7 separate regions of the Homo sapiens genome follow, and all the other regions are linked to region 6. Evidence: promoter capture Hi-C in 16 types of primary human blood cells and fetal thymus (Javierre and others, 2016). All regions are on one chromosome and are shown on one strand. The core of a region is centred on a gene start or on the middle of the fragment in contact, and the rest is flanking DNA. Distances in the headings are between cores, read along the strand shown. Region 1 has its middle 24 kb from the start of PRDM8. Region 2 overlaps CFAP299 (cilia and flagella associated protein 299). Region 3 overlaps CFAP299 (cilia and flagella associated protein 299). Region 4 overlaps CFAP299 (cilia and flagella associated protein 299). Region 5 has its middle 19 kb from the start of CFAP299. Region 6 holds the start of BMP3 (bone morphogenetic protein 3). Region 7 overlaps LOC124900725 (a long non-coding RNA gene).

Evidence for each region. The method cuts DNA at HindIII sites, captures the fragments that hold promoters and counts their contacts. A CHiCAGO score of 5 or more calls a contact.
Region 1: a contact is called between a fragment that was not itself captured here and the fragment with the promoter of BMP3 in region 6, in 1 of 17 cell types (M1 macrophages). The highest score is 5.7, in M1 macrophages.
Region 2: a fragment that was not itself captured here is called in contact with the fragment with the promoter of BMP3 in region 6 in 16 of 17 cell types (total B cells, naive B cells, naive CD4 T cells and 13 more); the score reaches 25.1 in total B cells.
Region 3: a contact is called between a fragment that was not itself captured here and the fragment with the promoter of BMP3 in region 6, in 14 of 17 cell types (total B cells, total CD8 T cells, naive B cells and 11 more). The highest score is 11.0, in total B cells.
Region 4: a contact is called between a fragment that was not itself captured here and the fragment with the promoter of BMP3 in region 6, in 15 of 17 cell types (naive CD4 T cells, activated CD4 T cells, total CD4 T cells and 12 more). The highest score is 25.5, in naive CD4 T cells.
Region 5: a contact is called between a fragment that was not itself captured here and the fragment with the promoter of BMP3 in region 6, in 7 of 17 cell types (activated CD4 T cells, naive CD4 T cells, naive CD8 T cells and 4 more). The highest score is 9.7, in activated CD4 T cells.
Region 7: a contact is called between a fragment that was not itself captured here and the fragment with the promoter of BMP3 in region 6, in 3 of 17 cell types (total CD4 T cells, naive CD8 T cells and total CD8 T cells). The highest score is 6.1, in total CD4 T cells.

Annotation. Positions count from the first base shown.
Region 1 is chr4:80,220,016-80,223,519 of GRCh38, reverse strand. No RefSeq gene overlaps it. Among named protein-coding and RNA genes, the nearest start is that of PRDM8, 24 kb to the right of the region's middle. The HindIII fragment of the contact is 2,891 bases long and covers 332-3,222 here.
Region 2 is chr4:80,371,043-80,374,398 of GRCh38, reverse strand. The region is part of intron 2 of CFAP299 (cilia and flagella associated protein 299); the gene reads right to left. Among named protein-coding and RNA genes, the nearest start is that of CFAP299, 37 kb to the right of the region's middle. The HindIII fragment of the contact is 1,400 bases long and covers 1,176-2,575 here.
Region 3 is chr4:80,388,307-80,392,044 of GRCh38, reverse strand. All of the region lies in intron 2 of CFAP299 (cilia and flagella associated protein 299), which reads right to left. It also overlaps the pseudogene LOC100419739. Among named protein-coding and RNA genes, the nearest start is that of CFAP299, 54 kb to the right of the region's middle. The HindIII fragment of the contact is 1,287 bases long and covers 671-1,957 here.
Region 4 is chr4:80,351,108-80,354,605 of GRCh38, reverse strand. All of the region lies in intron 1 of CFAP299 (cilia and flagella associated protein 299), which reads right to left. Among named protein-coding and RNA genes, the nearest start is that of CFAP299, 17 kb to the right of the region's middle. The HindIII fragment of the contact is 453 bases long and covers 1,148-1,600 here.
Region 5 is chr4:80,315,187-80,318,933 of GRCh38, reverse strand. No RefSeq gene overlaps it. Among named protein-coding and RNA genes, the nearest start is that of CFAP299, 19 kb to the left of the region's middle. The HindIII fragment of the contact is 3,468 bases long and covers 716-3,747 here.
Region 6 is chr4:81,028,918-81,032,273 of GRCh38, reverse strand. It overlaps BMP3 (bone morphogenetic protein 3), which reads right to left and starts at 1,566. Exons shown (of 3, transcript NM_001201.5): 1 at 674-1,566. The coding sequence starts at 989. The HindIII fragment of the contact is 6,285 bases long and covers 1-3,356 here.
Region 7 is chr4:80,253,241-80,257,002 of GRCh38, reverse strand. It overlaps LOC124900725 (a long non-coding RNA gene), which reads right to left. Exons shown (of 2, transcript XR_007058161.1): 2 at 1,482-1,638. Among named protein-coding and RNA genes, the nearest start is that of FGF5, 12 kb to the left of the region's middle. The HindIII fragment of the contact is 1,973 bases long and covers 1,147-3,119 here.

The DNA of each region.
Region 1 (3,504 bases), core at 528-3,027, 810 kb after region 6:
AAGAATTTATATATCTGGCATTATCAAAATAAAAACTTCTTTCGGGCAGAGAAGTCATAAACAAAATTAAAGCTCAAGAGATGGATTGGAAAAATATTTGCATGAATATAACAAATGTCTTCGATATTCAAAATCTTTTAAAATTAGGGATTAGTAAGAAAAAGCAAATGTTGCAATAGAAAAAAATGTGCAAAAACATGAATAAGCAATTCACAGAAGAAATACATATATTCAATAAACATAAGAAAAGAAGATAAACTTAACTAGTACTAATAACTAGGAAAATGCAATTTCAAATGTGAGATAGCATGAAAATAAAAAATTTAAAGCTTTATACTGAATGCTGGTAAGGGTGTAGGTTGTCTAGTATTCTACAAGCACTGTTAGGTGCAGCCACTTGAGAGAGCTATTTGACAGAATCAATAAAATAAATGCCTCTTCTTTATAATCTAGCAATTATATCACAATATGTACTGTAGAGAAATGCTTGATCATGTATACAAGGATATACACAGCCACATTGTTTGTAAGAGGGAAAAAGTAGAAACAAACTAAATGTTCTTCACTAGAAAAATGGGTTAACTATGGGTACATCCATTCTCAAGGACAGTATGTGTAGTTAAAAAAAAAATGGGAGAGATGTATAGGAAACAACACGTAGATATCTCCAACATCTATTATTGAATAAAACCAAACACATACGAGAAGTTGTTCAGTGTTACTTTTTATTTAAAATACCTGTGTACACAAAACAACAAAATACTATGATATATATTCTAAGTGAACACACATTTGAATGTGAGTGTTTATCACAAGGTCTGAACAGGTAACACTGTTAAAATTAGTTATTATTTGTAAAACAATTTAAAGCCCATCTGATGTTTTAACTCTTTTTTCAGATAATAAATATATTCTTCAATAAGGTCTTTCCAAAAGTGGCACAAATTATGTTAAAGTAGCCTTTGTTATAGTGTATCTAGATAGGTGAGTGATAGATGAATGACATAAAGCGATAGATATTCCTTGGAAGGTAAGAATAAGCCTCTGTATGTGATTTTCCTACTAATGTCCCTATTCTATTGATAAATGAGATATCATACTATTTCTGGGTTTTAAAATGGCAATTTTGTTAAATTTTTTAAATTACTGAGAAAATACTTTAGAATCAATGTAGTTATGGATACAAGAAATATATGTGGGCGTTTAGGAAGCCAGGACACCCGTAACCTTATTCCAGATGGCCTAATAGTTTACACGCAAGACTATGTTTGAAATGCTACTTTTTATGCACAAGTAGTGAAACTAACAACGTAATAGCAGCTTGTGAACATTTTCATGCTAGTCAAAACCTCAAATGTAAGGAAAAAATGATAAAATGTCCTTTATTTATGTAAAGTACATCAGGCATTCACACTTTAGAAATATTGCTTTTTAAAACGTGGTTCAAAACAGCTCTAATGGATCACCAGGGAAAAGATGATGAAAACAGAGATTCAATTCAACAGGTGTTAATGCTGTGCATTTTTCAGCAGTACTGGTGTTTGCAGCAAGAAATAGAAATTAAACGGATACTTCTAAGTCTTAAGAAGGCTGCACATCCTCTGGTTCTTTCATACTAGTATAACATTGTAAAGTCCATTAAAACTTTAGGAAATAGACGTTGCTAGTATTCAAATAATAACATTTAAGTAAGCAAAAATAATATAGATTTCATTAGGTACTTAAGAAGGTCATTTAAAATGTCACAATAGAAATTATACTTAAAAAATAAGAATATGTGACCTCAGGAAGCTAGGTGAGGTGGTGTGCACCTGTAACCCAAGCTACTCCAGAGGCTGAAGCAGGAGGATCTCGAGCCTGTGTTCAAGCCTGTAGTGTGCTATGATCATACCTATATGCATTCTAGCCTGGACAACATAGTGAGACCCCCATCTTGAAAAAAAATGGAAAAAAAATTAATTGTGACCTCAGGAAATAAGAAAAAGTTCTTAGGAGTATTATTAGAAGGATTTTAGAAAAAAAAACTTTGAGAAATAGCAGAATTTTTTTTTTCTGGAAGGAAATAAAAGTTCTAACTCTGTGAACAAGGACATATAAGAAAGACACAGTGATGAGAATCTAGGTTGAATTTTTCAGTTATTAAGGAAAATAAGTTGAAAAAGTGACCTCTAGTGGGCTCTTAGCTTCACTGATAAAGTAGGCTCTTTTCATGTTTGAATAAATATAAGTTTTTATTATAAATATAAATGGCTAAGGGCATAGAATCTGGATAACATATTTTAAAAACACTCTTAGTAACATAATGTATTTATTTGGATTGCTTTCCAAATTTAAAAATCATTGCTTCAAAAGGATTTCACAAATTATCTTAATATGATCTAATATGTTTAAAATAAGATAAACTGTAAAAACTACTTTTCACACATGGCATGATATTTATTGGTCAAAAATGCATTTCCAATTGGCCTATGACAGATACAAATTAGATTCCTGAGAAATGAGTGATGGAATCTCATCAGCACATGCATTTCTGGGACTGATGTTTCATTTCTTTTGCCTTTCATATAGCTGGTCTGTGGCACACCTCTCCAAGACTGACCAGACAGCACATGCTGGTTTCCCGAATTCTAAAATAAGATTAATCCTCTGCAGCAGTCCAGATCCTCTGCTGCTGAACAAGTGCCATAAACCAGCCCCAGTTGCTTCCTCACTTCAGGATCTTAAAGGAAATCTATTTACAAAGCTCACGTTGAAAACAAGATGTTGATTTATGGCGGTGTAATGAAATAGTAAAAATAGAAGAGATCTTCATTAAGATAAAGATGCAATTTCTCTTAAAAGGCATCATAAATTATGTTTTTTTTAAAGATAGCTGTCTTTTCCAAAGAGTAAAATAAAAAGTAAGATGATATTTATTACAGAAAATGAGAAATATCTTCACAAACTATGTTTTCATTTAAACATAAAAATCCCAAGCAAGTTCTAAAGAGCATGTGGAAATATGCTGAAACATCTTGAACTATCATTTTATTCTCTTCCTAACATAGGAAAATTGTCATAAGGTTAGGGAATTTTTTAGAAGCTGAACTTTATAGATCTTCCCCAACTAAATATTGTCGTTTTATAGTATTAGTGAGGTTTCAGTAACTGTTGAAAACTTCTGCTAGTTCAGCTCCATACTTACTTGGAGAAATATGAATATAAAATGGGGGTGTGTAAGCTTAGTATTACTTTGATTTACTTTTCATACATACTTCAAACTTCATTCAGACAGAGACTGAATCAAACAAGGATTAAAATTTACCCTATTCTCCATGATTTTTTTACTTCACTCTGTTGTAAGACAGAAACTACAAAACCATGAGTTTTTTTGTCATTATTAATAGCTACTTAGATTTTGATTATTCTAGGTCCTTTAGAAAAGAAGAGCTCTGAAAGATTATTTTAAGGGATTAGCTGGTTTTTCTCCAAAGTCATATAGATATTTGAAAATATTTTACATAG
Region 2 (3,356 bases), core at 626-3,125, 660 kb after region 6:
CCAGTTCCCTTATCAGAGTTACACTTCTGGCCACCAGGCTGATAATATGGTCAAGTCACAGATAGGGACATGGTAGGTCTGATAAGAAAAAAAGGAATATTATCCCACATATACTACAAGACCTAGGACTTGTACCAACAAGACTAGAGGGACTCATTGGACTAGATTCTGGGGATTCTAGGTCAGAGAAAGCAGAAATAAGACTAAATAAGTCAGAGTTTATTCACATGACACTTTCTCAGAACACAGGGCATTGCATTCTGGTACGGACCCCAGAAGATGAGGCAAACTCTGCTAGCGTGACTCCAAGAAACCTGGAACAAGCAATGGCCTACACTGAGTGCAGTTCAAAGGCCTAAATTTCAGAGAGAGACTTTTGAAGAAGAGAGGAAAATGCTCAGGAAAATGGCAATCCTAGAAGAAACATATTGTGTGAGACCAGAAAACTCACCGGAAGATCATGGTCTATAGAAGAACCCAGAAGATAGCCAGTCGTTAATAGCATAAAAAATGTGCTAGTTACTGAAGCATCAGAATCATTAAGAAGTTCAGTGATGGCTCTCCAATGCATTCCAGGGCTGAATGCAGAAAAGCCTTGTTGCATACCTAGGCTACCCTAAGCACAATGGGCATAATAGTACCTTGATGCAACAGAAGCTAAGTGATGGAACTTAACCATAAGACACCAGGGACTTGTAATTATCATAAGGACCAATGATGTAATGTGCCCAATGACCACCAAGGGCACTGCAGAAAGTTATGAAGATGGTTTATAGAACATGGTAATCCTTGAACAAAACAGATGGGCAATCAATAAAGGAATAACTCAATTTGTATCATAGTTAGAAATTAAAGATGGTTACTTGAGGTTGAAGGCAGCCATTCCAGTAAAAAAGCACGATGCACTGCCATATATCATTCAGTTTTTAGACCAAGAACTTGTTGACTAAATATGTGACCACATGCAGTATTCACCATAGCAAGTATTCATTGCAGTGATTCTCTTCTCCCCCAAAGAGACCTATGGGCATTTACTCAAATGAGTACACACAAAGGAAAATGTAATACCCACACAGTTAATGGACTACTGAATCTGCATTCAATCTGCATTCAAGCTGAGACTGGTATCTAGAGATCCAAAGAATCACTGTGGCCCCGCTCTTAGAGTGGAAGCTTATGGGGGTCAGATGAGAAATGGAGTCCTGGCCAAGGGTTAGTTTATCCTAACCCTTGGGGTTAGGTCCACTGTGTCTATGCAAGGGTTAGGTCCACTGTGTCTATGCAGCCACTCAGGGATCATTGACTGAAATGTCTAATTCAGATTGTCATACATGGCAGCTGGCACAACCCCCATGTTGAATCCTGGAGAATAAGTGTAGACTACCACAAGCTCCTCCAAGTAGTAGCCCTAATTGCAGTTGCAGTGCTACTTGCTGGAACAGACTAATGTGTCTTCAGATAGATACTATGTAGCTATTGATTTCGTGAATAAGTTCTTTTCTGCCTCAATTAGGAAATAAAGTCAAAATCAGTTTGATTTCTCATTAAACAGACAATAACATGTATTTACAATTTTGTCTCGGGGTTATGTTTATTCTCCTGTCCTCTGTCATAATGGAATCTGGGCTGGTTGGGCATCCCACAGAACTTCACATTGATTGATTCCATCAGTGACATCACGCTGATTGGAAAGGATGAACAAGAAATGAGTAGTACCTGGCTTTCAAAAGGCATGGTCACTCCAGAGGAGGGCAGATAAACCCTACAAAGCTCTGGGGGCCTGCCACTTCATACATTTTCCCTGATATACTACAGCCTTACTCAATGTGTTAGTTCTCTAGGACTGCTATAATAAAGTATCACAGAGAGGATGGCTTAAAACAGAAATATATTTTCTCACAACTCCAGAGTTTGGCTTTTCTCCTCTTCGGCCTTAGCCAGCACTGCTATCTGGGGACTCATTGAACGCCTGCTACACAAGCATCAAATCCAATACAAAGTTGCATCCCGACCAGGGAACCCATTCGTATGGTTTGAATCTGCATTCCCACCAAGTCTCATGCCAAACTGTAATCCCCAGTGTTGGAGGTGAGGCCTGTTGGGAGGTGATTGGATCATGGGGGCAGATTTCCCCATAGTACTGTCCTTGTGACAGTGAGTTCTTGTGAGATCTGGTTGCTTAAAAATGTGTGGCACCTCCTCCATCTCTCTCTTCCTCCTGCTAAGTCTGTGTGAAATGCTGGCTTCCCCTTCACCTTTCAGCAGATTGTAAGTTTCCTGAGGTCTCTCTAGAAACTGAGCAAATGTTGCCCTGTTTCCTATACAGTCTGAAGAATCATGAGCCAATTAAACCTCTTTTCTTTATAAATTACCCAGTCTTAGTTATTTCTTTATAGCAATGCAAGAATGGACTGATACAGAAAATGGGTACTAGGTGTTGGGTATTGCTATAAAGATAATAGAAAATGTGGAAGCAGCTTTGGAACTGGGTAATGGGCAGAGGTTTGAAACTGGATAATGGGAAAAATGTGGAAGACCCAGATGAAGACAGGAAAATGAGGGGAATCTTAAAGCTTCCTAGATACTTGTTGAATGATTGTAACCAAAATGCTGATAGTGATATGAATAGTGAAGGTAGGCTGAAGTGGTCTCAGATTGAAAGAGGCAACTTATTAGAAACTAGAGCAAAGATCACTTTGTTATGTCCTAGCAAAGAACTTGGCTGCATTGTGCCCTGGCTCTAGGGATCTGTGGAACTTTTAATTTGAGAATGATGATGTAGAGTATTTGGCAGAAGAAATTTCTAAGCACAAAGCATTCAGGATATGTCCTGGCTGCTTGTAAAAACCTATGTTCATATGTGTGAGCAAAGACATAATCTAAAACTGGAACTTATATTTAAAAGAGAAACAGAGTATAAAAGTTTGGAAAATTTGCAGCCTAGCCATGTGATAGAAAAGAAAAACTCATTTTGGGGGGAGAAATCCAAGCAGGCTGCAGAAATTTGTATAACAAAAAAGGAGCCAGGTGCTAATAGCCAAGATAATGGGGAAAAGGCCTCAAAAGGCATTCCAGAGACCTTCGTGGCAGCCCCTCCCATCACAGGCCTGGAGGCCTAGGAGGACTGAACAATTTTATGTGTTAAGCCCAGTGCCCCGCTATCCTGTGCAGTTTCAGGACACCAGTCCCTGCATCCCAAACCCCAGCCACCCCAGCTCCAGCTGTGGCTCAAAGGGGCTCAGGTATAACTCAGGCCATTGTTCCAGAGGATGCAAGCCATAGCCTTGATGGCTTCAATGTGGTGTTAGGACTACAAGTGCACAGAATGGAGGAGTTGAGGCTTGGGAACCTCTACT
Region 3 (3,738 bases), core at 65-2,564, 640 kb after region 6:
TCATATCTTAAATTTCCAAAATGACCTCCTTTGACTCCATGTCTCAAATGCAGGTCACGAGGTCCAAAATGATCTCCTTTGACTCCATGTCACACTGATGCAAGAGATGGGCTCCCATGGACTTGGGCAGCTCCACCGCTGTGGCTTTTTGGGGTACACACCACTTCCTAGCTTTCTTCACTGGCTGACATTGAGTGTCTGTGGCATGTCCCACCATGCCTGGCTAATTTTGTAATTTTTGTAGTGATGGGGGACTCACTATTTGCCCAGGCTGGTCTCAAACTCCTGGGATCAAGCAGTAGTCCCATCTTAGCCTACCAAAGTGCTAGGATTAAAGGCATGAGCCACCACACCCAGAATCTGTGCCATAATTTTATATGACTGGCAGCACAGCAGTTTCTTTACACCAGCATCACCACAAACATATGAATAATGCATTGCACTATGACATCACCAAGAAATAAGAATTTTTCAGGTTCATTATAATCATATGGGACCACCTTGCATACGCAGTCTGTCATTGATCAAAATGTTGTTATACAGTGTGTGACTGTTATGAAAAAGTGCTCAACATCACTAGTCATCAGGGAAAGCAAATCGGAACCACAATGAGATAACACTTCACACCTGTTAGAATGGCGATTATCAAAAAGACAAAAGATAACAAGCTTTGGCAAGTATGTGGAGAAAAGGGAATCCTTGCATACTATTGGTAGGAATACAAATTGGTATAGCCATTATGCAAAATACTATGAAGATTCTCAAAAAATTAAAAATAGAACTACCACATAATCCAGCAATCCAAGTTCTGAGTATACAAGGAAATGAAATTATCATGTTGAAAAGATATCTGCACTCCCATATTCACTGCAGCATTATTCACAAGAACCAAGATATAGAATCAACCTAAGTGTCCATCAATAGATGAATGCATAAAGAAAATGCAGGATATATGTGTGAGTGTATATATGTGTATATGTATATATATGTGTGTATATATGTGTGTGTGTATACATATATACATATATACATGTGTGTACATACATATATACATATATACATGTGTGTACATACATATATACATATATACATGTGTGTACATACATATATACATATATACATATGTGTGTATATACATATATGCATATGTGTGTATATACATATATACATATATGTGCGCATATACATATACATATATGTGTATATACATATATACATATACATATATGTGTGTATACATATATACATATACATATATGTGTATATGTATATATACATATATACATATGTGTGTATATATACATATATACATATATACATGTATGTGTGTATACATATATACATATATACACATATATGTGTGTATACATGTATACATATATACATATGTGTGTACATACATATATGTGTATACATATATACATATATACATATGTGTGTATACATATATACATATATACATATATGTGTGTATACATATATACATATATACATATATGTGTGTATACATATATACATATATACATATATGTGTGTATATATACATATATATAGAGAGAGAGAGAGGAGAGAATTGCTCAGTCTTTAAAATGAAGAAAATCCTATCATCTGCAACATCACTATGAACCTGGAGGACATTATGTCAAGTGAAATAAGCCAGGCACAGAAAGACAAATACTGTTTGATCTCACTTATATGTGGAATATAAAAAGTAAAACTCATAAAAGCAGAGAACAGATGGTTGCCAGGGGGTTGGGGGGTAGGGTAAATCGGGAGATGTCAGTCAAAGGGTATACAGTTTCAGTAATCTAGAATGAGTAAGCTCTGGAGATACAATGTACGGAATAGCAACTATAGTTAATAACACCATATTGTATACTTGAAATGTGCTAAGAAAGTAGACCTTAAATATTCTCACCATAAAATAAAGGTATTGTGATGGAAATGTTAATAAGCTTGATTATAATAATCATTTCATAATGTATATGTATTTCAAAACATCACATTGCATACTATAAATATGTATAATTTTTGTCAGTTATACCTCAATAAATCTATGTTAATAATTCTGGAAAAATCACTCTGGTTGTCAATTATTAAACTGGAAACCACCAGGGACTCTGGAGACACTATGCTTCAATTTCAATTCCAGCTCTACTATGTGCTAATTGAAAGACTTTAGGCACTTTCTTAAAATTCTGTGCCTCAATTTCAACATCCATAAAATGTGTTTAAAGAAGTAAATAGTAAATGCTTATATAAGGATTTTAGTACTGTCTGAATATTTGAATGTGCTCAATAAGGTTAGCTATTTTTATTATCAGTTAAGCAATAAAGGCACAAAGTAATGAACTCGGTTAGCCAATGTGGTATCAGAATATGAATCATTCAGTCTATTTTGTTTTCTCAATGATAGAGTCAAGCCTTTCTCCTCAAATAAACATTTCGGCTAAAGTATCTTGACCTGATGCAACTAAAACAAAATATATTCAATTTTTTAATTTACTCCTCAAATACCATTCAATTTCTGATCTGGTCTTTGGCCACTGTAAGCACAGGTCTCTTGCTTGGACTACAATGTTCCACAGCTGCAAATTGCCTTAATTTTTAATTTCCCAGGTGTGGGATCAGAACTATGATAATGGAGTGTGTTTTAATAAATCCTTAGACTCTTAAAATGGGACTTCGGAAAGACTAACTCAAACCCAGAGATGGAGTAAGTTGGAGTGTAGGGTGATTAGAAAGTGAAGCTCTAAAGAGAAGAATTGTTCATTATTGTAATACTAGGTAGGAATGATTAGCAGATAATACTGGGTAGAAAATCCAAAAGACAATCCAGATAAATTATTATCTAACCCAATCCAGCAGTGAATAATAAAGATAATAAATGACCCAGTTGAGCTTATCCCAGGCATAAAAGGAGGATTTCGTATTAGAAATTCCTTAAATGTCTTTCAACACTTAATAAAGAAGAAAAAATAGTATGATCATCTGACTTATTAAAGAGCATATAAAAGGGAACTTTCCATGTTAAACACACAAAAACACATGTACACACCCACATATTACTGTAAACAGGGAAATAGTAGACATTATCCCTTTAAAATAAAAAACGACACAAGGAAGGTACACTATTAATACTTACATTTATTCATGTACTACAATGCCTTACAAGAATAATTTAAAAAGAAAGAAAAATAAATTAAGGAAATATGATTGGAAGAGAAGAAATAGAAACATCATTGTTTGCAGGTATGACTAACAGCATAGAAACCCTACCTCCCCAAAAAATCTATTGATTAATTATAAGAAATATAGGGGCTCCAAGATGGTGCAGGTGATCTTTAAGGCCCTGGAGGGAATGGACAACCAGACCATTCTAGCTGTCCCATCATTACTGGATGGCCAAGGAGCAGTCCCTGATCCCAGAGGCCAGAGTGTCAATGCGTCCCCTGCTATCCAGCCATTGGATGATGAGGATGTCTTTCTCTGTGGGAAGTGTAAGAAGCAATTCAACTCGCTGCCAGTGTTTATGACCCACAAGCGGGAACAGTGCCAAAGAAATGCCCCCGACCTGGACACAGTCTCGCTGGTCACCAACAGCATCTACACAATCTACACACCTTCGGCAGCACCCACAGCGGTCCAGCAGGCCTCGCCTCCTGCCAATTGCCAGATCTCTACATACATCACAGTGCCCCTGTCCCCACTGATCCAGGGGAACATCTTGGTAAGCAA
Region 4 (3,498 bases), core at 125-2,624, 680 kb after region 6:
TCTGTACAACAAATCCCCATGACACTTTTAGCTATATAGCAAACCTGTACATGTAACCCTGAACTTGAAATAAAAGTGAAAAAAAAGTCATATATATGCTTTAAAAATCAAAATATGTTGTAATTAATAAAGTTCAAATAAAGGTCATTGAAAAGTTTGCAGATTTAATCATTTAAACATTTTACCAAAAAAAGTGAATCATGCTGTGTAAAATCTCTCATGACCTACTTCTTCAACATTTAACTGTACATCTTGAACACCTTTCCATTAAGTATATATACAATAAAACTTTAGTGATTACATATTCCAGACAATTTGTAAGGACAGATATTGTACATAATTATTGTGCCTTCAGGTCACTGCCTTCCTCTGAAATGAAAATGATATGAAATCCTAATTTGATTTGTATTGCTTTGATTACTAGTGAGATTCACCATCTGTTCACACATTTATCAGTCATGTGCATTTCTTCCTTTTGAATTGTTTTGAATTATTAAATGAACCCTTTGCTCATTTATTACTAACTAGTAACAACTTTGTGTGTGTAATAAATATATTAAATAAGTGTCTGCAAAATATCTGCAAACAGTCTTCTTAGGTCATTGTTTTCCTGAAACTCTTAATAGTTCTTACTCCAAAACGTTCAAAGCATTTAGGATATATTTTGGTGCCTGGTGTTGAAAGAGAAATACTTTTACTTATTCAAAAAGTTTTTTTATTCCAAAAGACACAGCTGAAACATTGTTAAGTATTGCTTCTTTTCTCCACTGATTTGAAATTTTACATTTCTTTATACTCAATTCTTAAGTATATTAGAGGTGATTTCTCTATTTCTATTCTGTACTATTAATTAGTTTCTCTGCCCTTTCAACCGTATCACAGATAGTGTAGATACTGCCCTCTCAACCTGCCCAGGGAGAAAGCCCCACAACAATTTGTTTGACCTCCACAGATTTCAAGCTTCACTTGTATCAAGCTAACTGCTTCCAGGAACAGCTACTTGACTCAAGATAGAAAGGTTAGAGTTGGGAGTGTCAGAAAGCATGGCATACTCAAATGCCATCTTCTACTAATTTTTGGCAATCTGGATAATTTATAATACCACATTTCTTAATGTTAAAACAATATGACATTTTTGGAATAAGCTTATTGCAGGAGGTGTCTCCCCACAACAGACTTTGGGATGTGGATTTGTGTGCAGAAAATTTACTGGAGAGCACTCTCAGAATTTGCACTCCCACAGGGGTGAAGAAAGCAGGATTGGGCAGTGAGATAATTTATAACAGGGCCTCAGCAGCTCTGGAGTTGGATGGTCCTTTCGAGTTGACCCAAATTGATTAAAGTGGCCACATCTTTTTATCCACAATAAGCAGTAATTTAAAGAGAACTGCCCCAAGAAGGGAGTATGACTTTGGAAGAGATGTTTAGGGTGACTACAATCAGCCTAGTAAGGGGTTTGTCAATTTTATTGATATTTTATAAAAGTAACTTTTGATAGCATTGATCTCTATTATTTTTCAATTTTCTACTTCACTGATTTCTGCTCTTTGTTATTCCTTCTGTCTACTTGCTTGGACTCAATTTGTATTGTTTTAAAGCTTCTTAAGGTAGAAGCTACTATCATTAATTTCTAGACCTTTCTCCTTTCCCCATATAAACTTTTAAAACTGTGAAGTTCCCTCTATAGATTCCTTTATGTATATCCAATAAACATTTATATATTTTGTTTTCTTTTTTACTCAAATCAAATTTTTTTCTAATTTTTCTTTTAATTTCTTTTTTGACATTGCGTTATTTAGAACTATGTTGTTTATTATCCAAATATTTTGGAATTTGAGGGGTATATTCCTATAGTTGATTTCTAGTTTTAATTGTTATGATCACAGAATATACTTTTGTATGATTTCAGTATTTTAAATGTATTGAGACTTGTTTTATGACCCTGCATATGGTCCTTCTTCATAAATGTCCCATGTGCATTTGAAAAGAATAGGTATTCTATTATTGTGTGAACTGCTCTTTTATTTATTTATTTTTTTGAGACAGAGTCTCACTCTGTCGCCCAAGCTGGAGTGCACTGGCACAATCTTGGCTCACTGCAACCTCCGCCTCTTGGGTTCAAGGGATTCTCCTGCCTCAGTCTCCCAAGTAGCTGGGATTACAGGTGTGCACCACTGTCCCCGCATAATTTCTGTATTTTAGTAGAGACGGGGTTTCACCATGTGGGCCAGGCTGGTCTCGAACTCCTGATATCAAGTAATTCACCCACATCAGCCTCCCAAAGTGCTGGGATTACAGGTGTGAGTCACTGCACCTGGCCTTTGACTGCTCTTTAAATCTTTTACATACTTACATTTATTCTAACTTCTGGTTCTATCAATTACTGAAAACAGAATGTTTATGTCTCTAGAAACAATTGTGAATTTGTCTACTCTTTCAATTCTTATCAATTTTGCATAACGCATTTTGAGGATCTGGCATGAGGCATGTAAGCTAATGTATTGATTGACTCATTTATCTATATTAAAAAGTCCTTCTTTTTCCCTGAAATACTTCTAGTTCTGAGGTCTACTTTGCCTGATATTAATATAGACATTATAAATCTCCTTTTCTTTATGCTTGTATAATACATATTTCCCATCCTTTTAATCTATTTAAAATTATCTATTAATGTTAATATAAAATTAACATTATATTAACATTATTTATAAATCATAATTATTAATAAATCATTAATTATAAAACAATTTAATGTATTAACATTAATAGATTGTTAATTTAATGTTATTAATATATTACTATAACTATAACATTAATATTAATCTTAATGTTTTATTATTAATCTGTTAATGTTAATACATTTACATTAAATTGTTGTATTTATATTTAAGGTGGGACAGCATATATGGCTCTTGAACTTTTATCTATTCTGACCATCTCTGCTTTTAAATTGAAATGTTTAGATCATTTACATTTAATGTAATTTTCAGTATGGTTGGGTTTTAATATACTACCTTGTTATTTCTTTCTTATTAGTCCCATTTGCTTTGATATTTGATTATTTTTGCTTTCTATTTTTTGTTTCTTATTTCCATTTTATCTCCACTATTACATTTTTAGTTATATGTCTACTTTATTTTTCAGCAGGTACTCTGTGATTTACAAGAATTATTAGCTTATTACATTCTACTTTCAAATAATATTACACCATCTCAAGTATAAGAACCCATTGCAACATTATCCTCTGCTATCTTTTGTGCTATTGTTGTTTCATACTGTATTTCTGTGCATGTTATAAACCACAAAATGCAATGTCATTATTTTTCTTTAAATAATCAATAATCTTTAAATATAAAACTGAGAAAAAATTTGTATTCACATATTTAGCATTTCTGGTGCTTTTCATTCATTTTCATTTTGATCCAAGTTTCCTGCTTATATATAATTTTCCTTCAACCTGAAGAACTTCATTAAACATTTCTAGTAATATATATCTGC
Region 5 (3,747 bases), core at 1,200-3,699, 710 kb after region 6:
GCTTGATACTTTGACATTTTAGGTCTGGAAAAGCACAGGGTGAAAGATGGCAAAGAACAGGGAAATTTTAGTTTAGAAGTGCAACAGCTCACTTAGAGCAGAGCTTTAGGAAAGCAGAATCCAAAACCACTGTGACTAATACACTTTTCAAATTTATTAAGTAGAAAGATGCACAGGCAAAAGAGAGACAAGAAGCAAACAGAATCGGCTCTTACAGCAGCAATTCAGGATTCTGGTGCAGTGCCCTAAGATCATTTTCATAGCTGGGTAAGAATGATATGTTGTAAATGTATAACTCATAGGTAAAATAATACTTTCTGAAAATAGTATTTTCTGCTGAGATGTCAACAACAACAAAAATGGATATGGGGTTACACCAACTGTTTCTCAGGATAGGGTGCACCTGTTTTAAAAGGAAAAATGTCTAAAGAATTTGTTCTCCTATTTCATATCTCTTGACCTTTTCAACCATTAACTTCACAATGCTAATAAGTCACAAACCAAGTTTAAATGAATCTATTTTGGAAGTGCACTGGACATTTGCTCATCCATACCAAATAAAGTCCTTTTCAAAAAAAAAAAAAAAAACCAGCCTAAAAATTTAAGGTTATTTTGCACACATAAAACTGAAAAACCCATGTGGAGAGGGCTGAATACTTAATACCAAAATTGTATAACTGTTGCCTCAGAAGTAATACTGTTTTTGGCAAAAGCTTCATTGAAATATAACTCACAATACCACACAATTCGCAAATTTACAGTCTATAATTCAATAGTTTTTAGTACATTCACAGAGTTGTCCACCCAATTAACATAATCAGTTTTAGAACATTTTAGCATCCCCCAAAGAAACCCTGTACTCCAGTTTTCACCTCCCAAAACACCCGAACTCCCACCCCCAGCCCCAGGCAACCACAAATCTACATTCCATCTCTACAGATTTTCCTATCTTGAACATTTTATATAAATAGAATCATGTAACATGTGTTTTTTTGGACTGAATTGTTTCTCTTAATATAATATTTTAACCAACTTGTAGCAAGTATCCGTACTTCATACCTATTACTGGTTGAAAATGTCCCATTATATAGATATACCACATTTTGTTTATCCATTCATCAGCTGATAATCATTTGGGTTGATTCCATCTCTTGGCTATTATGAATAATGCTGCTATAATATCAATGTACACATTTTTGCGTGGACATATGTTTTCATTTTTCTTGGGTATATACCTAGGAGTGTAACTGACGGGTCAAATGATAGCTCCATGTATACATTTTTGAGGAACCACCACACTGCTTTCCAAACTAGTTGCACTATTTTATATTCCTACCAGCAGTTTAGAAGGGTTCCAACATTTTCACATCTTGTTAACACTTGTTATTCTCAGACTTTTGATTATAACCAACCAAGTGAATGTGAAGCGGCATCTCATCGTGGTTTTGATTTGCATTTTCCTGATGACTAAAAATATTAAACATTTCTTCATGTGCCTTTTGGCCATTTGTGTATCTTTGTTGAAAAAATGTCCCTTCATATTCTTTAACCATTTTTCAACTGGGTTGTCTTTTTATTATTGAATTGTACAAGTTATTTCCATATTCTTGATATGATCTCCCTATCAGATATGTTTTGCAAATAATTTCTGTCATTCTGAGGGTTGTCTTTTCACTTTTTTGATAATAACATTTGAAGCACAAAGGGTTTTAATTTTGATAATCCAATTAATGTATCTTTTTTCTTTTGATGTTCATACTTTTGTAATGCATCTAGAAAACCATTGCCAAATCCAAGGTCATGAAAATTTATCCTTATGTTTTCTTCTAAGAGTTTTATAGTTTTAGCATTCATATTTAATTATTTGATGCACTTCAAGTTGATTTTCATATGGGGTATGAGGTAGTAGTCCAACTTTATTCTTTTTCCTGTGACTATCCGGTTGTCTCAGCACAATTTATTGAACAAACTCTTCTTTCCTCATTGAATGGTCTTAGCACCCTCAGTGAAAATCAATTGACCACAAATATATGGGTTTATTTCTGGACTCTCGATGCTATTCTATGGATCTACATGCATATTCTTACGCCAATATTGTCTTGATTACTATTGCTTCATAGTAAATTTTGAAATTGGAAAGTGCAACTCCTCCCACTTTCTTCTTTTTTAAAATTACTTTGGCTATTCTAGGTCCTTTGAGTTTCCGTATGCATTGTAGGATCCACAAAGAAGCCAGCTGGGATTACGATAGGGATTGCGTTGAATCTATAAATCAATTTGGGGAATAGTGCCATCTTAACAATATTAAGTCTTCCAATCCATGAATACAGAATATATTTCTATGTACTTAGATTTTTAATTGCTTTCAATAATGTTCTATAGTTTTCAGAGTATTAGTGTCACACTTCTTTTGTTAAATTTATTCCTCAGAATTTTATTCTTTCTGAGGTTATTGTAAATGAAATTGTTTACTAAGAATTTTATTCCTTTTGAGGTTATTGTAAATGAAATTGTTTACTCTATTTCATTTTTGGACTGTTTATTGCAAATGTGGAAATATTATTGATTTTTACATATTGATTTGTATGTCATGATCTAGCTGAGGTTGTTAGTCACAGATTTTTAGTGGATTATTTAGAATTTTCTATATATATATATATAGAAAACTATGTCATCTCAAATAGAGATAGTTTTATTTCTTAATAATGCTTTTTTAAAATAATTATTTAAAATGTTTTGGCCTTAAGTCAAACAGTTGCAGGTACTATATTCAGATGTAAGAACTTAGTTATCTGGATTTGTCATCTGGTGAAAATCTAGTTTTCACTAATACAGTCATATGTTGCTTAATGACAAGGATACATTTTGAGAAATGCATTGTTAGGTGGTTTTGTCATTGAGCAAACATCATAGAGTGTACTTACACAAACCTAGATAGTATAGCCTCCTACACACCTAGACTCTATGGTATAGCCTATTGCTCCTAGGCTACAAACCTGTACATGTTACTGTACTGAATACTGTAGGCAATTGTAACACAATGGTAAGTATTTTTGTATCTAAACATATCTAAACATTAAAAAAGTTTAGTACAAATATTGTATTATAATCTTATGGGGCCACCATTGTATATGTGATCCATCATTGTCTGAAACGTTGCTATGAAGTGCATGATGTATATGATTATCTCTAATAAAACATTTTTTCTTCTTTTTGTTTTCTGTTCTTTAAAATAAATTGTTTGGACAATTGTTTCCTTTGACTACTATACTTCTACATAGTAAAACTCTTACTTTCCTGCTAAAATAAAGCTGTTGTTACTATTTATTCTGAGAAGATTATATTACCTAACCAATCACAGGACCAGTAGTCTTTGCTTCCATAAAATTAGACAAGTTTCTCTATAACATGATTTTACATAGCAATCAAAAGTATAGAAAACTGTTAGTCTCATCACTGAGAGTAAGTGGCAATAAGTTTGCAGCAATATCAATAACACAACAGAACATCTGTCTGCAAAAGGCAAATTAAATTATTAATGTAGGTATCCCCCACATCATAAAATGTAAATACTTACCATGTATGGCTACTTTCTCCCTTCTACATAGAAATCTGCTTCTGCAATCACTTTGCTACAGATTGGGTTAAAAAATAAAAACTGCCCACATTTGGCACAAAGCTGATACCAAAGTAATAAAAATTAGTCAATAATTATATAACTGGTTCTGGGAACACTACGAAACTTTT
Region 6 (3,356 bases), core at 317-2,816:
ACAACCCCTGTTTACCCAGATGCGTTTTAATAATCGAAACACCCAAGCACCTGTTTTTTTTTTTTTTTTTTTTTTTTTTGCCACTAAGGAACTATCAAGTAAAGTGTCAAATATAGTACAGTAACACAAAGGGCGCGAATTAGGAGCGGGTGCAATATCTGGAGAAGCGACTGGGGAAGGAGAAAAGGAGAGGGGAAGGCGTCTTATTCAAGTATGATTTCTCTCGGGTCCTGGCATTGGCATAAAATGGCATCTGCCTCTTAGTAAACATGGCTAAAGCCCAGTCCAAAGGAATTTCCGCTGGCCGATTTAGGAATCAACAGAATAAGGTACCCTAGAGGTGCTCCAGTCACTCAGGGCAGGAGGCCTCACAGGCATGGGGTGTCGCCCCTTCCCTTTTTCCACGAAGCTCCTCCAGCCTACCCCTCCACTGCTCCGCGCCTTCATTCTATTTCCCCCTCTCACTTTGGATTTGAAAACTGGGCTTACAGGAGATGCAGCTGGCGACACGCGGGGTGTGACTGGACGGAGGAATCCAGAGGGCAGCTGAGGAGGGCGGAGAAAGGTCCCTAGGCAGCGCCACCAAGCAAGGGGCAGACAAGGAAGCTGTGGGGGGTCCCGGGAGAAAGCTGGGGCGGGACCGCGGGAAGGGAGTCTCACCTCGCGCACTCACCTGCTGCTGCCGCCCGAAAGCTGCGAACCGTGTTGCCTTCGCGCAGGAGCCGAGGGCGCCAGGGCTGCGAGCCTCCCTCCAGGGAGCCCGGTGTCCGGGCCGCCTGGACCGTGCTGTACCTGTCATAGAGCCGCAGCATGTGTTCAGAGACCTTGTCTTGCGGCTGCAGCTCGGAGTCCGGGCCACCACCTGCCGTGCGGTCACCTGGCACAGCTTTGCGGAGCTCCGGGAAAGGTGGCTTCGGTCTCTCTCCCTGCGCCAGGCTCACGCAGAAGCAGCCCAGCCACAGAAAGAGCAGCCTGCTCGCCCCAGCCATGGCTAGGTACCCGCGCGGCGCGTCGGCTCCCGGCGTCGCTGCGGGACACTCCGAAGGCGCAAGGAGCCGGCGGCGGAGCCGAGGGTTGAACTCCAAACCAGCTGGGGCGAGGGCGCACGGAGCCCGGGACGCGGCCGGGTGCAGCGAGATAGCGGCCAGCCCCACTTGCTGCGCTGACCCAGCGCAGCCTGACAGGTGGGCTCTTCCCCAGCAGCTGCGCGGACCTCACCCGCGCAGGGCGCTGCGGGCGCCGTCTCCACTCCAACGCTGAGAAAGAGCTGTAGGTCGCGGCGTGTGTGGCCCGGGTGTTTTCAAGATCTGTCTGTACCTTCCCTCCTCGCTTTATTTTTGGGAACACCCGGCCAAACTGGCCGCGCGAGGGACTAGGACTAGCTCTGTTTTGGGCGCCAGGTCGGAGCCGGGGCTGTGCGCAGCGGTCCGGAGGGCGCTCGATTGCCTTTTCCAGGGATTGGAGCAGCTGCGGCGCGGCTGGTCCGAGTTTTTTAGTGTACGTGTGTGTGTGTGTGCGCGCGCGCGCGCGCGTGTGTGCGTGTGTGTGTGTGTATGAGAGAGAGAGACTTAGTTCTTTCGCTCTCTAGCTGATCTGTAGAGTCCTCAGCCAATCTCTCCCACTCCCTCGTCCTCGCCCTCTTAGCTTGCACCAGGCTGGGATAGAAGCAAGGGAGGGGGGGAGTAACCAGAGAACTGGCAGCGGGAGGGAGAGAAGAGGAAGTAGGGGTGGGGATGGCTGGGGAGAGGAAGGGAAAAGGAGATTCAGGACTAAAGAAATGGTAGGAGGGACGGTTTTTTTGTTTTGTTTTGTTTTGTTTTTGTTTGTTTTTTTTTTTAATTCTCCAAGAACAGTGGCTGTGTGGTGGCTAGCAAGAGGGCAGAGGAAAACAGAACTTCTTCCTGGCTTTTCGGTCTTATGATTCCAAACAAAGTCACAACGTGAACACCATTCTCGCTTACTTTCCCGAGCCTCTTCTGACGGACACTGCGGGCCCCTGCACCTGCAGCCCGTCATCATAGCTTCCTGTCTTTCTGAGAGCATACCCATCATAACGCCCCTCTCTCCCGCATCATCTTCTCTCGAGGTGAGAAATATGTGCGAGTCAATATCATGTTAAAAACAAATAAGAAAACAAGCAAACACACCACAACCCCACCTACAGCTTCCCCCAAAGGTTTCCTTCCTACAGGTCCCCAAAAGGTTTCCCAGCAGGATGGTGCAGTGGTGGCTAAAAACAAGGGTGTGTGGAAGATCCCGGAGTCCGGAACAGAATGTAAGAGTCGCTAGCTTTGTCTTCCTAATTCTCTCTTGTCATGGCTGTACAATGGAGATTAAACTATGAGCAGCCTGGCGCAGTGGCTCAGGCCTGTAATCCCAGCACTTTGGAAGGCCAAAGCGGGTGGATCACGAAGTCAGGAGTTCGAGACCAGCCTTGCCAACATGGTGAAACCTCATCTCTACTAAAAATACAAAAATTAGCTGGGCGTGGTGGTGCGCACATGTAATCCCAGCTACTGGGAAGGCTGCGGCAAGAGAATGGCTTGAATCCAGGAGATGGAGGTTGCAGTGAGCCGAGATTGTGCCACTGCACTCCAGACTGGGTGACAGAGCAAACTTTGTCTCAAAACAAAAAACAAACAAACAAACAAAAAACAACTGTGAGCTAACATTTTTCTCCACACTTATGCTCTAGACATGCCTTGTTATTTATATTTCAAGTATATTACCAAATAATTTTCACAGCAAAACCCATTTTACAGATGAGGAAACTGAGGCAAAAGGATACATAGTAAGTGACAGAACTGAGATCCAAATTCAGGGAGTCTGATTTCTGGCCTCAGGCCAGATAACCACACTATTAATAGTGAAATTAGCATTTAAACTGAAGTTTCAGTGTGCAATCCATGTAAATGTTTAGTGCAGTTCTTGACCATATGCAGTAAAATCTTCAGTCAATGTCTATTGCATTTATCCCTCTTCCCCTCTGTAGGGCAATGGAGTTGATCGAAAAGAAGATAGGCTCCTGGAGTCACACCATGTCTCCAGATCTGAGTTTCTTCTTTGATGGTGAATAACAACACATTCCTTTTAGAGTTTTGTTTGGATGACATTAGAAAGCAGTGCTAAAGTGACTGGCGCACTCACTAGCCTTTAATAGGGGCTCAATCCCTTTCTATCCTAAATTTATCCCAAATCCAGACTACATTCTCCCCACTCAGTCACTTCTTAACCCACTGCGGTTTGGATTTTGCCCTTAGCCACCCCGGGAACTGTTCTGCAGATAATAACACATATTTCAAGAGTAGTTGTGAGGATTAAATGAGATCATGTGTTTGATCTTTGCTTGGCATAAA
Region 7 (3,762 bases), core at 884-3,383, 780 kb after region 6:
GCAGCTAGACTCTCATCTTCCCACATTCACAAGGGCCATGTCCTCTGTTGGGACTGCTCATCCCCAATATATTTGTCTGGCTAACTCCTTCTCCTCCTTAAGTCTTTGCTCACGTATTTTCCCCTCAAATGATACCTACACCCTCTATAGAGTCACTCACATCCATACTGCTTATCTTTTAAATTTTTCCACAGTAATTATTTTTGAATAAGCAGTTACAGAGTTCTTACTATAAGCCAGATATTCCAGCACTATTGCCTTGTCTATTTTATAGGTCATAAGAAAATGAGGCACAGAGAGGGTAAATAACTTACCCAAGTCACACAGTTGGGAAGTGGTGGGGCTAAGGTTTGAATTCGGACAGTCTAGCTCTAGGAGTAATGCTTTTATAACTTTGTTTTGCTGCACTCATCACCTTCTAACCCACAAGGGAACATTCTTCCGTATTACATTTATTGCTTATTGTCTGTTTCTCCCTGCTAGCATGTAAGCTTCAGAGGGTAAAAATCTTTCTTTTGTTCACAAGTATTTACCAAACACCGAGAATGATACTTGATATATTGTTGGTACCCAATAATTATTCTTTGAATAAATAATACATTTGAAGATTGAGGGTCTGCTCTCCAGCTTGAGATACATTATTTCGGCTTCATTGTCAAGAACTTTCACTTCTCAGGAACCTCAGCTTTACTCCATGTGGCTTCAGGCAGAGTAGAATGAGGAGAAACAAAATTCTAATCCAGACATTTTATTCCAGCCTATAATTTTTGAATGCAGGAAATTTCCTCAGAGGTGCTGCTCTTATTTCCCTCTGCTTTTATTATGTTTCTTTTACAACTCCACCCATCCCTCTCTACCCCATAAATGAAGTAGGTAAATGTGAGAGGAATCCAGGAAAAAAAGGAGAAGCAGTAGGGTGTTCACCCTTGTTCTTACACACACCAAAACCACTTAACCTTTTAACGTCTTTTTCTATATGAATTTCGTAGTAGCAACATCAAATAGACAGAGAGATTTTGAATCAGAAAATTGGAACGTGTGCCAGAAATGCTACTGGTTCTTTGCGGTACCCACAATTCAAAGCAAAACAAAGAAAACCTTGTCATCCAGATGTCCTGAAAATGCCAGCAGGGCTGAGTAGAAGCTTGTGGTGCTTCAAAACTTAGTTCATTTTGTAAAGATAGCACGGGGAATATAGAAAGTGCTAGTAGAAACCAATATACATGAAGTCTAATTCTATAGCCCACTCCCACATATAAACATACACACACACTCAGAGTAGCTGCATAGCCATGGTCAAACTCCAAAGCCTTATTTTTGTTCTCTGTAAAAATGGGAGTTATAACTTTTCCTCTGGTATGCTTTGTTGTGAGAAGAAAATAACACACGCATGACTATGAATGTGAAATCATTACACAAATATAATTATGTGGTAAGTATGTCAAAATAATGCACCTTAATATACAAAAAAGCCTAATGAATGAGTACAAAAGTATTTTAATCAGTTCATTGTGTCTTAGGGAAATGCAAACAGTAAAGCAAATAAAATTAATCATCTTCTTTGTTTTTCGTGGCAGAAGAGCTTGGTCCAATAGCTTTTTACAAGGTTGATATGATTCTCTGTTGGTATTTCAGCAGCTGAAAGACAGTTACAGTGAATATTTGTGGATTATAGAATGAATGAAATTTATCTACCTTATTTTGAAGGACAACACTAAAGGAAAGGAAGATAATTAAAGAAGTCCATCTGCATTTTCAACCATCTTCTTCAAATAGTAGTATTTTTGTTGTTGTTGCCAGAACTATATAAAGGTAACAAATGTCACCAACGTGTCATCTCTTTTGGCTCTGATCCATAATGATAACCTGTCCACTCTCTAAAAGAAAGGGAGTTCACTTCAGGTTTCCATATCAGAATACCTTTATAGCAGATACCCTCATTCCATGGTAGTTAAAGCTATGTGTCTTAAAATAACTTCACCCTGATTGAGTTAAACTTTGCAGTGGCTAAGCTGCAACAAACTTCAACCCATTTTCACCTCAGTTTCTCCATTAGTAAAACCAAGATACAACCTTCTCAACTTTGTTTTCCTCATATATGATTACTTTTTAAAGTTTTAAAAAGTACTTTCAGGCCTCTTTACTTACTATGTACTTTGATTTGTTGGAGAAAGATAAGCAACAGTACTGTATGTTTACTATAGCAAGTCATATTAGTAAAAGTTTTGAGCATGGCTAAGATTAAAAATTAAAAAGATTACATGTTTTAAGAAACAGAAGAATCATAAAGAGTCTTTATCAGGCCGGGCACAGTGGCTTATGCCTATAATCACAGCACTTTGGGAGGCCAAGGCAGGTGGATCACCTGAGGTCAGGAGTTCGAGACCAGCCTGGCCAACATGGCAAAACCCTGTCTCTACTAAAAATACAAAAATTAGCCGGGCGTGGTGGCACATACCTGTAATCCCAGCTACTGCAGAGGTTACAGTGAGCCGAGATCACGCCACTGCACTCCAGCCTGGGCAACAGAGTGAGACTCTGTCTCAAAAAAATAAAAAGAGTCTATATCAATGTGAAAGATCACCATGGGTTTGTTATTAACATTTGAAATTGCTATTAAGAATTTGTGGCTGGATGTGGTGTCTCATGCCTGTAATCCTAGCACTTTCAGAGGCAGAGGCAAGAGGGTCATGTGAACCCAGGAGTTAGAGACCAGACTGGGCAACATAGTGAGACCCCCTATCTCTACCAAAGTTTTTTTTTTTTTTTTTTTTTTAATTATCTGGGCCTGGTGGCCTGAGCCTGCAGTCTCAGCTACCCAGGAAGCTGAGGTGGGAGGATCATTTGAGCCCAAGGGTTCAAGGCTGCAGTAAGCTGTGACTGCACCTACTCCAGCCTAGGCAACAAAGCAACACCCTTTCTCAAAAAAAAAAAAAAAAGAAAAGAAAAAAGATTTGTATTACCTTTTTATTTATTAATAAGGCAGAGGGAAACTCTTATACTATTCCTTTGCAATTGTTTCATAGTTAATATACTGCCACTGAAAGCAGGATTGTTAACTAAGCAAAACTCTGGGGGACTCTTCGGTTGGAGGTCCTTAAAGGGAATCACAAGAAGCTTATTACAGGAAATGTTAATGCTGAGAAGCAGGAAATACTAAGGTCCTAATATGAATTGACACAAGATTCAAGCATCTGACAGGAAGAAATCAGCACACATCTAAGCATCAGCACTGGCAGCTGCTTGGGTGAGCTATGCAGCATTATCCCTCTCCAGCAGCACATCTGACCCTAGAAGATAAAGCATGCGAGCCTCCGTGACATGCACAACGCTCAGAACACTTCCTGGCTCTGCCACCTGGAGCAAGTTTCTTGACCTCTCTGGACCTTAATTTCCTCTTTTGCAAAATTGAAACACCAATAACCTCTGCCTCAGAGAGTACGGTTTCAATTATTGCTGTGAAAATTAAGGTGCTAATGCCTATAAACAAAGCAGTATTGTCAGTTTCTGGGAACTTGTAAGCCTCACGACCATTAACTATCAAAACAGAATCCCTCTTTCTCCCCCTTGGAGATTCTGGAGGATATCTTTTTGGAGGAGAGAGGAATTCACATTTCAACGCAAGTCAACGAATGTATCTAAATGGGCTTTCCTTTCCTAAGTCAGATTTCTTCAATCCAGTGAAAGATTAAAAAATGCTATTTAATTTGAGTGGTAAAAGTCACAAGGTGCTTCCTTTGTCATAAATATCAGAGATAATGT